2 separate regions of the Homo sapiens genome follow, and region 2 is linked to region 1. Evidence: promoter capture Hi-C in 16 types of primary human blood cells and fetal thymus (Javierre and others, 2016). All regions are on one chromosome and are shown on one strand. Each heading gives the region's core, a stretch centred on a gene start or on the middle of the fragment in contact. The rest is flanking DNA. Distances are from core to core; before and after follow the strand shown.

Evidence for each region. Contacts are between HindIII fragments. The CHiCAGO score rates a contact against its expected background, and 5 or more counts as called.
Region 2: a fragment that was not itself captured here is called in contact with the fragment with the promoter of GPR22 in region 1 in 1 of 17 cell types (naive CD8 T cells); the score reaches 5.6 in naive CD8 T cells.

Annotation. Positions count from the first base shown.
Region 1 is chr7:107,465,490-107,471,608 of GRCh38, reverse strand. GPR22 (G protein-coupled receptor 22) reads right to left here and starts at 1,552. Exons shown (of 3, transcript NM_005295.3): 1 at 1,164-1,552; 2 at 1-237. The region is part of intron 6 of COG5 (component of oligomeric golgi complex 5); the gene reads left to right. The HindIII fragment of the contact is 4,703 bases long and covers 1-3,213 here.
Region 2 is chr7:107,855,944-107,861,536 of GRCh38, reverse strand. LOC105375444 (a long non-coding RNA gene) reads left to right here. Exons shown (of 3, transcript XR_927850.3): 3 at 4,421-5,058. Among named protein-coding and RNA genes, the nearest start is that of DLD, 32 kb to the left of the region's middle. The HindIII fragment of the contact is 3,556 bases long and covers 1,327-4,882 here.

The DNA.
Region 1 (6,119 bases), core at 303-2,802:
TACAGTTATATTGTTTTTCTTTTTGTGGTTATTTTATGTAGCATCTTCTTAGGATACAGTTGATTTTTTATATTCCATCAGTAATGTAGACCTATTCCCTGGTTTTAACTCCTTAATGTCTTAAAGTCGTGTTACAAGAACATCTTGCAGTTCGTAGTTCAGACAGCTAGGGAGATGCTCAGTCAATTGCATTCTTCATATTGTCAGTTGTAAATACTGAATTAGCTGCTATTGGCCCTTGTGAAAAGAAGAAAATTGGTTAAGAAATAGGGTTTTTAATAATTTGTAATTAATTGCAAGTTACTTTAGTTTTGTTTAAAAACTATCCAGTATTTGTTATCAAAATAACCAAACTGTTATTATTAGAGCCACAGCTATATGCATAAAATTGTTTCTTTAAATAAGTCTTTTTTCCTAATAAAGATTGTATATATTATGTTATTTAACAATAGAGTTCACATTTCAAATACAATTGTGAGAGAAAAGCTATATTTTTTAAAACTAATTTCTGCTCTCATTTTAGAAGCTAACCTGTATTTTCAGAGATGATGAACAATTAGCATACACTAAACATACTGTTATTTCTTCTTTGTAATAAATTTAACAACATTTTTTGCTCTAAAAATATTGTAACTTGCCTAATTATTAGCACATGGTTTGAATTTTAACTCATTAAAACAGATTTCATAAGATACTATAAATTTCCATTGATGAATTGTTCATGTGGTTGAAATACAAAAGGTAATAAAAATTGTAACTGCAAATTAATTTTCAGTGAACATGCCAAATAATAAACTTAACATAAAATTAAGTAATAAGTAACAGCAAAATAGTAAACCTAGTTCTTTTAAGAAACAGAAGCATTTTTGAAACACTGGAGAAAAACTGTACTGATTACATTAAGAATATTTAGTATATCTGAAGTGACTCAAAAGCTGTCTTCATAATGAATTTACAAAGAATATTTGTATTTAACAATGCATCCTAAAAAATTACATTTAAAATGTAGCATGTCTTAAAAGAAATAGATCTTAAAATACATGTCTAGCAATAAGTAGAATTAAACAAACTCTTAAAATTTAGGCTGAAATTTTTCAAAGTAATTTTTACCCCACTATGCCGGTTCAAAAGCAGCTGTATACTATAATAGGAACAAATCTTACCTCTGCTAAAGATTTGATAAATTCTTGATGTAGTTGAAGCATTTCCAGTTTGGATTGATTCATTTTGTTCACTTGTTAGTAGAGGACTGGGGGAAGAGGGTCATAAACATCTCTTCGAAAATGACCTTAATGAAAATATGTGTCTGTAGTGTGCCATTGTTTCAGCAGTACTGCTAATGTATGGAACATGTAGTGCTGCTTAGAGGCTGCTGCAGTCTCTCACTCTTCCTACTGTGGAATCAATAAGCATCTGAAAATACATAATGAAAGTAATTTAACATACTGAAGGCTTCTTGTCTCCAGAGACAACATTTAGATTCAGTCTTTCTAAAAAGGAACGGCACTGCTTTTCAGAGGAAAGCCTGTTCGGGCAGCTTTTGCAGAATGACAGCCTACCTTGTCGCTTCTCTCCACTGCAGAGAGATGCAGTGTATTCACTAATTTTGATTGGTCAGTTGTATTGGGCTTAAACTGTGCTTCATATGTATAGCAGGGATTTCCCCCGCTCCCCACTGTTTTATATAAAGGACACTTTTAAAAAGGCTAAATTTATGAGTGGTTGTATGTTGTTCTTAAATAGAATATGTGTAAATTAGTATTTTAAAAATGTGTATTCTATTCTGGTTTGTTGGTCACTTATGCCAAACATTAAAAAAAAATGCAGGGAGGTGGGGGAACAGGAAAGAATTACATAGTAAAAAGTATATATGCTTTCTAAAGCCTTGATAATTGCATTTGAGAATATTTTAGTCATATATAGGTTTTTGATTGAGATTCTTTGTTCTACAAATAGAAACCCACTGCATCTTTACTGTGAGCCACAGTGAATTTTAAATAGTTTGTTTGTATTCAAGTCATCTTCTCTGGGTATTCCAAATTGTTGTGAGCATCTCAAGGTGTTAAACATTGTCATGACTTCAGTATTCATTCATTTGGGTATTCATTCATTTCATTCATTCATTCATTCAAAATAATAATCAGATTGACCTAAGGTGATAATACCCTAAAATATTTTTTAAACATTTCATTATAGTAGCTTAGTCTCGGGTATAAAACTTCAATCAGTAATCATTGTATTACTTTTGGAGATTACTACTTGGTCTTCACCTTTCATAACCCTTTTATTTGGTAGATGTATACTGATCATTTGCTATAATATTTTATTTCAATTGGCTTATTCTATTTTTGACCTGGGCACATTTCTTAGTAGATTGCTGTTTCTTAAATATGATATGTAGCTACACGCTAATATTGTTAGTAAAATATTATTTTAAAGGATAAAGTAAGTTACATGTCTTTATAAGTTATAAAGCCAAATCATTATAAGATAGATACATTTTCAAAATGAAAATAATGGTACAAGTACTGAATATTTAAAATTAAATATTTAAATATTTAAATTAAAAATTTTAAATTAAATTAAATTTAAATTAAATTTAATATTAAAAATAAAATTAAAATATTTAAAATTAAATTTCTGTTAATTTTAGTTACCTATAAATAAGTTCCTGTTTTTAATGATGAGGATAAATTTCTTTTAGACTTAAGTAGATAAAACAGCTGGACTCTGTTGACAAAATAGAGGACATTACATGTGGCTAAACTGTTAGAATGTTAATTATCACCTGTTTCCATTATTTTAGGAATATTTAGTGACCTTCATTTTTCAAAATGTATACTGGTTTTTATTTGCAATTGGAACTATTCTCTTATTATTTGAAAAGCCGTATGCATTTTTATAATCTTCCACTGGTAGTGTTGAATCTTTATAGGGGAATAGCTGACCAATATGAGTTGTGAGTTGCATTTCTATAGAAGTTGAGAGTAATATGGTGGAAAATTTTGTTGTGAATTTCTAAAATCTTCTGCACAGCTTTGGGTGGCAAGGCTTTGGTAATTCTAAAAATGAAAATGTTGTGCTGCTATTCATGCGTTTTGAAAGTTGGGGAAAAGGATCTTGCTAGAATGCCAGCCATTTATAAAGAAAACTTACACACACCGAAACACACACACACACACACACACCACAGCACACACATTCATTTAAGCTTAAAACTAAGACCAGAGAAAGCATAGCATCAGTGGAAATATGTGATGGGGATGAGGAGATTATTAACACAGCAGAGTGCTTTTCTGCCAGAGTTCAAGTATTTGCTTATGTTTATCATCAGAATATCCCCATGAAGTAGAAGAAACAAAGGTACAGAGAAATTTACTGACTTGAAAGGGTCAAGGTAAGTTAGCAGCAGAGTCAATGTTAAAACTGCAAACCACGCTGTACTAGGCGGTTGGCCTTCTCTCTTTGGAAAATTATGAAGGTCTTGGGACTTAGAATTGGATAATCTAGATTTAGTTGCTATTTATTACCTATATAACTTTTGGCAAGTCAAACATCCTTTGGGTCAACTTTGATTCCTTTTGTTGAAGTATATTTTTGTGCTTTGTTTAACTCTTTGTGAGACAGTGTTTTCAAGTTATATTCAGATTATTTCAAAAAAACAAAATCTGGGGTTTCTGAGCCATAATGGTAGCTCGAGCACAGACAGTGCTCTTTATTTTCTGTATGAGTAACTTGTCTCCAAGGATAAATAAGATATCACAAACTTTTTTTATTGTGTACAGTGCTTAGTATAATTTTATTTCCTTTTTAAAAACCACAAATTGGTGATTAACAAGGTATGCCGAAATCTTAACAAGGTAATTCCAACTTCCCCTGTTTTTAACAAATATGCAAATATCTCAACTACTGATTGAGAATCAGATTATATTATTTTCATGAAAAAAATTAATTACAGACCGGGTGCAGTGGCTCTCACCTGTAATCCCAGCACTTTGGGAGGCTGAGGCGGGTGGATCACTTGAGGTCAGGAGTTCGAGACCAGTCTGGCCAACATGGTGAAACCCTGTCTCTACAAAAAATACAAAAATTAGGCATGGTGGCACAAGCCTCTAGTCCAGCTCCTCGCGAGGTTGAGGAATGAGAATCGCTTGAACCTGGGTGGCAGAGATTGCAGTGAGCTGCGATTGCACCGCTACCCCTCCAGCCTGGGCAACAAGGTGAGACTAGGTCTCAAAAAAAAAATAATAATAATTTCAGATTATCAATTTATGAAGATCCTTGTTTCCGTAGTAACACTCACACTTGTGCATTTAATATATTTTGTGCAATTAATATAACCTTTATATACTAACCTAGGAGAGCAGTTTGACTTCCTAATAATAACTAAGCACTAGATATGATTCTAACCCCAAAATACAGCTCAATTAAAATCCTTTTTTAAAAGTCGTGCTTTTCTTTTTAGTTATAAATATTTTAATTGCATATCTGTTTTAATTCCTCCTATGGGAAGTCTCTAACTAATTTTATGTATTTGTTTTCTTAAATTTTGACAACCGTGACTATGACAGAGTAATTTATTGTATATTTACATTGTACTATTCATATCAAATCATTCTTACCCAGCTTGTGGCTAGTTCTGATGCCACAGTTTTGAAGATTCTCTGAGTTTGTAAATAAAAACTCAGCTTTGTGAAATATTGGAATTCACCATAACTGAAAGTACTTTGAAACAATTTTAAGGTATCTATGTACAAACAATTTTTAATTGCTGAAAATCAGTTTTAAGCTGTATTGCGACAAGGGTCCTTTTTCAGTGGATACTTAGCGTAGTAAACCTTGAACTCTCTCTGATACTGGAGCCCATAGAAAAAAGGTTTATTTTGCTTTAATGCCAATTCAGAGATTTTATTTGGCTTCTCAACTTTACATTTCTTTCACAACAAATACTTTATCAGAAAAATAGAAATGGACCATCTGCTGAACTTCCATCAAGTGGGGAGTAGCAGAAGTCGTAGAGAATCAACAACATTGGTGATTCATTTTCTATATGAGAATAACTGAATACTGATTATATTTGATAAAGCACATGCATCAGAATTGCATACACTTAACAGATAGAAAATCCAAAGCCATTCTTTCCCATCCTTCCCTACTTCACCTAAATTGGGCATTTACGTTTTTTTCATTTTTATTTTTCACACTGTGTTTGTAAGTCATTTGCCAGTATCACATACATTATAAAAGTAAATACATGGCATTTCTTGCCATTTTTCCATCCATACCTACACTTTGGATCCTGTGACTATTATTACAATTTATCCTCCCTCTGTTGCACAACTGTTGGCATGTCTACTTTGGGGCTTTGTCCAAATTATTACCTTCATGTCCAGTTTTCTGGTTTACTGTTTTGACTGCTTACTATCCCTCTTTGCCTTCCTAAATATTATGGATTTTATTGATGTTTTTCTCTTATATTTTCATCAAGGAACTACACAAATAGCCATGTTTGTGCTCCATCACCCCATTGATTTCTCTTTTCTCTTGCTTCCTTTTTTTCTTTGCATAATTCTCTTACTCTTAAGTTATGCAGAATCAAATTAATTTTGTGTCCTGAGGCCAAGTCCATTGATCAACTAGATTACATATTTAACAAAGCTGTGTCAAGTCCCCTGTTTTGTGCTGTTATGACTCTTATGCTGTGCTGGGGGACATAGCTGACTGTCTACAATCTAGTGCTCTGTTATTGATACTAGTTAGATACATAACATTTTTGTAAGAAGGCTGCCATTCTTTATATAAAGAGCCTGAGAATGGCAGAGTTTTACTATAGGCTGTAGTTCTACTATAAACTCAGTAACATCCACTATACTACTTGAGTCATCCATTTGGGAAAATGAATGCATTTTAAGAGTTTAATTAATAATTCTTAAAGACTGTAATCACTGGTGTCTTTCTGCCAGGTATATTCAGCAGTGTTTCTTCAGTTACTCCTACCTTCTGATCTCTGTTTAGGGGTGCAATATCTATAAAAAGTCCTGCTGTTATTTTGATTGGTATTGCAGAGAATCTGTAGATCAGTTTGGAAAGAAATGACATCTTAACAGTATTGAGTCTTC
Region 2 (5,593 bases), core at 1,855-4,354, 390 kb before region 1:
TTTGAGCCAATTCCAGAGATCCTCTTTATAAAACACCAGCCTTGCCTCTGGCTTCCTGTTGTGCCCTCTGTATGATGTGAGAAGACTCCAGATCTAGGCAAGAATTCAGGTCTCTATATTTCACAACAAGGTAAAAACTTTACCCACTGGCATGCCTGGAATTTAAACCAGATGAGTCTATTTTCAATTAATAACAGAATTTCTACATTTCAGGACCTGCTAAGCAATACAGCCTGGAACTCTCTGCTCTTCAGTGCCAAATAAAATCCGATTGAAATCATAATCAAATTTCAAGGTCCACGAGAATCATCCTCTTGGCTCAATTCCATATGCTCCATCCCTCTGCATGGAGCTAGCCAGACAGTGCCACACCTGTGCTAGTACTTTAGATTCTATTTTTATGTCACCACAATGGTAACCTTTAGTATTATGGCTTTGGATTTTTATGGCGAGTTAGTAAAAGGAGTAGTCACAGAAATACCAGCCCTCCAATTTTAAGTAAAACTATATTTGAAATCAATAGCTTGTCTTTTGCTCAGTGGACAGTATCAACCATTTTGCTCATTTTATTCAATGAGCAGTCATTTACTAAACACTTCCTTTGGATAGATAGGTGCTGGCCATACATAGATAAATCAGATACGTATCTATGTTTCCAAGAATTCACAGATAGTGAAGAAAACTGATAGAAATAGTCACAACACAGTGAGCCGGGTGCAATAAAAGGGTTTAGCACAAAGTGCACAGATAAGGACCCAGTGCCAACTTGAGGCAGGTAGTTGGAGAAGGCTGCTGGAAAAAGTAAAAGGGGTTAGACAGGAGGACATGGCTTCTCTATGAGGAAGGTTCACATTTACATTTTAGCAAGGTCATTCTGGAAGCAGTAAAAAGGTGGATTTACTGAACAAACGCATGGATAGCGCTTGCCATTACCGAAGCACTGTTCTAAGTGCCTACGTATAGTAAATCACTTGATCCCCGAACAACTCTTTGAGGTAGGAATATTATCCCCAATTTACACATGACGAAACAGGCACACTAAGATTGTGCAACTTGATTGAGGTTGTATGGTAGTTAAGGAGCAAAGCCAAGATTTAGAGGCAGTTGGTTTGGCTCCAGGGTCCATGCACTTTGTCATTATATTATACTGCCTCAGGGAGAGCGGCAGAGAGAGTCAGAGAGGAGAGGCAGGTGGATCAGTTGTAAAACTTATGTAATAGTCCAGGAGAGATGTATATGCTTTATTTAGGAGGTGAAAACAATGAGAAAATCGACTGACACTCACTCCTGACTTCTAGCTTGGAGAGGTAGATAAATTACTAAGCTTTTAACTGAATTTAGGAGTGCTTAGAGGTAGACGTTTCAGACATGTAGACCAAAAGGAAGAAGAAAAGAGAAATAACATTTATAAAGCAACATTATGTTCTAGGCCTTCTACATAGTTATCTTGTTAAATTCTTAAAACTCTAAGAGGTAGGTATTAAGTATGAGGAAATTGAGATTCAGAGAGGTTATGTAAGGTCACACAATACATTAGATGTTTGTTGGTTTGGGCTGCCTAGCATCCTAAGAGCACCCTGGTTTTCTCTGGGGGAATCCCATCCCTCCCATGCATGCAGTCTTGGTGGGAGCATAATTCCAGGTACCTGCTGCCAACAAGCATCAAGGAGCGGTGCCATTCCTCTTTATGGCTTTTATCATAGCCAAGGCATGGTGAGGCTGGCCAGAGCTGTTCTGGGCTGCTTGCAACTAAGAAATCCTAACTGAAGTACACAAGCAACAAAGCCAAAACTCAAACCCCAGCCCGTCTAATGCCCAGCTCATACTTTTCTACTCCACCATGCTGCTCCCGGGGTTTCTGCACTCAGAATATGTGTACATGGAGATTGTTCACAAAGGGCCAATATGAGAGCGTTTCTACAAACCATTCGGTGCTTATTCCAGGGTAAGTGAAAGATCTGTCAGGCAATTAAATAAAATCCAGTTTGTTGAGGTATAACTTGCGTACACACAATTTATCCTGTTTAGCCAACCAATTCTATGATTTTTAACACGAAACTGCCATCAGAAACAAAATATAGAAGGGTTCCATCATCCAAAAAAGTTCCCTTATGTCCCTTTATAGTCAGCCCTTAACATCCCAAACCCAGTTTCTGGTAACTACTGATCTATTTTTTATCCCTATGGTTTTGTCTTTTCCAGAATGCCATGTAGGTGGAACTTTACACTATGTAGTTGAGAGTCATGCATGTGGTTCCCTAATCATTCGTTCATTTATCGGGTAAATTTTACTGAATGTTAAATTTGTTAAGTTATCAGATAGTCAATAAATATGTATTAGGCTGGGTACTGCTCCAGGTATGGGGGGACAGGAGTGGGAACAGCAGGGACCGCAAGGATCTGAGTTCCTGCCTTCAATGAGCTCATGTTCTCATATTGGGCTGGTTTGTGGGTTGGGGGAAAACAAGCAAAAAACACATAAACAGGGCTTTAAAATAATTTAGTTTTAAGTCCTGCTAAGTGCCAGACGTGGCTCTAATAGGATAATGAGAGAGTGGTAGAAATGGGCAGAGAGGCCGGGTGCAGTGGGTCACGCCTGTAATCCCAGCACTTTGGGAGGCCGAGGTGGGCAGATCACGAGGTCAGGAGATCCGGACCATCCTGGCCAACACGGTGAAACCCCGTCTCTACTGAAAACACAAAAAATTAGCTGGGCGTGGTGGCGGGCGCCTGTAGTCCCAGCTACTCCAGAGCCTGAGGCAGGAGAATCACTTGAACCCGGGAGGCAGAGGTTGCAGTGAGCCGAGATTGCACCACCGCATTCCAGCCTGGGTGACAAGCAAGACTCCATCTCAACAAAAAAAAGAAGTGGGCAGAGAGTGCTGATTTATCTAGAGTGGTTTGTTGAGTGGATGTGAATTGAGACCCAGATAATGAGAGGGGGACAGCCGTGCAAAGATCTAGGCAAGAGGCACGCAGCAGAAGGAGGAACAAGTGCAAAGGCCCAGAGCAGGGCTGAGCTTGGTGCATTCGTTCAAGAGATAGAAAGCTGAAGGGACTGGAGTGCTGAGGACCAGGAAGCAAGTTGTGGGTCACTTGGGAGAGCCATGAAGGAGCCCAATCAGGCGGGTTTGGTAGGCCAAGACTGGAGGGTAAGTTTTTCTCTAGTTGTAAGAGGAAGCCTTGGAGAGTTTTAAACCAGAGAGTTATGTAACCTGATTTACACCTGGTAAAGATACCTCTGCCTGCTGCGTGTTGTATGGACTGTGCTTGACAGGGAGGAGAGTGGGATAAGACTGGAGGCAGGAGATGGGCCTGGAGGCTTCCTCAGTGTTGAAGGGGGAGCTGACGGTGACTTGAACCAGATTGTGGCACTGCAAATGGTGAGAAGTGTTGGAACTTACTACTTTCGTGGTGTGGTGGATAAAGAAAAAGAATCCCAAAAGCAGTTACATTTTAGTATTTATTTTAAAAGCTGACTTCAAAAATCTCATTGATGCAAATCTGGAGAAATACACAAAAGTTTAAAACTCTCTATAATACAAAGTAGGTTGGTGACTAATTTGCACAATGCAAGTAAACTAGTCTTGATACTCGAGGTCAAAAAGCCTAAACTTGGGGATTAATTTAGTTTTGCTGTATACACTGACGGAAATAATCCAGTAGCCTCCATAGCCCCCACTCCACTTTGTGTTATGAGGACAGCAGGCAGTCAGCACACATGCACTGACTCATATGATACCCACATTCAAAGAGCTTTAACGTGTTGGTTGGATTCCAAAGTAAAAAGAATAGAGACTCATTGCCATGGTTGTACCTGGTCAAGGTCACACCCCAGCCACACTTCTGAGCCATTTGGCTTAGAAATGGGAAACATTATAAAGTTGAGTCAGGAATATGGCAAACCTCCAACCAGAGTAAACTATTTAAAAAATTCACATTTTCTTGTGGCCTTCAGTTTTTTCTCCTTGACATCCTCTGTTCTATCAAGACATTAAGTCCCATGGCCCATGCAAAAGACACTTGGTGCTGTGTTCTGAGATTATCATTTTGATCTACATCTGACTACCATTTTTCCAGCCAAGACCAGCCTTCCTTGTAAATAAAGATCTGTTCAGAGGATATGAAAGAATACATATTCAAGGAGTGCTCTATTCCTTTAGCTGTTCAAAGGATTTGAGGACTTTGTTTGTTTTGAAACAAGTAACCGGCTTTCTCTAACCACGTAACCTCAACCTCACAGGACAGCCAGCAGGAAGTCAGAAATGAAGAACAGCCGATGACCTGGGTGCACTCTCTGGGTGCAGCCTGCTGTTGTCCTGTCCCCACCCTTGTCCTGTTTTTCACTTGTCTTGTTGTTTTTAAGAAAAATTTTTGTCTGCTCTGAGGATCTTCTGCTGATCTCAGGTTTTTCTTTCAGGTAATACATATGACAGGTGCTGGACAGAGCTGAACTGGAACAAGGGTCTGCAGCCATTCACAGAGGGCATGTCAATCTGTGTTCACTCAGGCAGGAGGCAGGAACATGCAGGATGGGAATGGGAAAGTAAACAGGAGTGGCCATGGACTCCTGGCCTCTTCTCTCCATGAGGTTTTCTCACCGAGAGCCTGCTCCAGGGAAGGTGGTTGGCCAAGGCCTGGGGAGCAGCTTTGTGAGGCCTAGGAAGACCCCAGAAGAGGACTTTGCTGAGAAGAGAGCAGACAAGAAGTCAGGAGTGGGGTGAGAGCAGCTTCTCCCTCTCCTTCGCACACTTGTACATAGGCATTCTCCCTCTATTTCCAGCTCCTGCACCCAAGCTATAAAAACAAGTATGGCCTACTGTAAGGCATTCCACAATAAAGACCTCATTCCTTCTGAAAACTTTTCACACTATAAGAAGCTTCTTCTGAAAGGCAAGCGCAGTCACTAGCAACTAACACTGTAGCCACTGCTATTCATCTTTCTAGGTATTAAATAACATCTATTTGAGGGCAAGAGCGGAACACAAGAGACATATCCAGAAGGAGAAAAGAGAGAGAAAATGAAAAGGGAATTAATTGGTGAAGTGGGATGTACCAATTTTTCCTCAGGGTTGCCTGTATTCAAAATACAAAAATACTCTGTGAGTATGAAAGTATTCAAAAATATTCGGTGAGCAATTTTCAGTGTACATTATTTATCAAATAAGCATTTTTTTCTGCACCTTGGCACATAATAGGTGCTCAATAAAAGTTATTGTTATTACTGGTATTAGTACTGTTGCTGTAATGCTATTACTGCATGCCATGTTAACATACTGTTCTGGGTTCTAGGGATAGAGAGGGGCAAAACCTAGTCTGTGTCCTCAAGAACTTACAGCCCAGAAGGGGGACAAGTGAGTTAGTGGCAGGTCCTGACACAGTGTTAATAAATGCTGTGATTAATGTCAGCATTAATAATATGACTAATGCTATTAATGTCAGCATAAACGCTGAGCCAGAATGGACCAGACTTTTATGGGAGTCTATAGGAGAAACACTGGCTAGGAGTGGGGCAGGGATGAGCACTGCTTTCCAAGAAAATAGTCACTGAGAGGAGTCTCAAAAGACAAATAGAAACTGGCCAGGTATATCA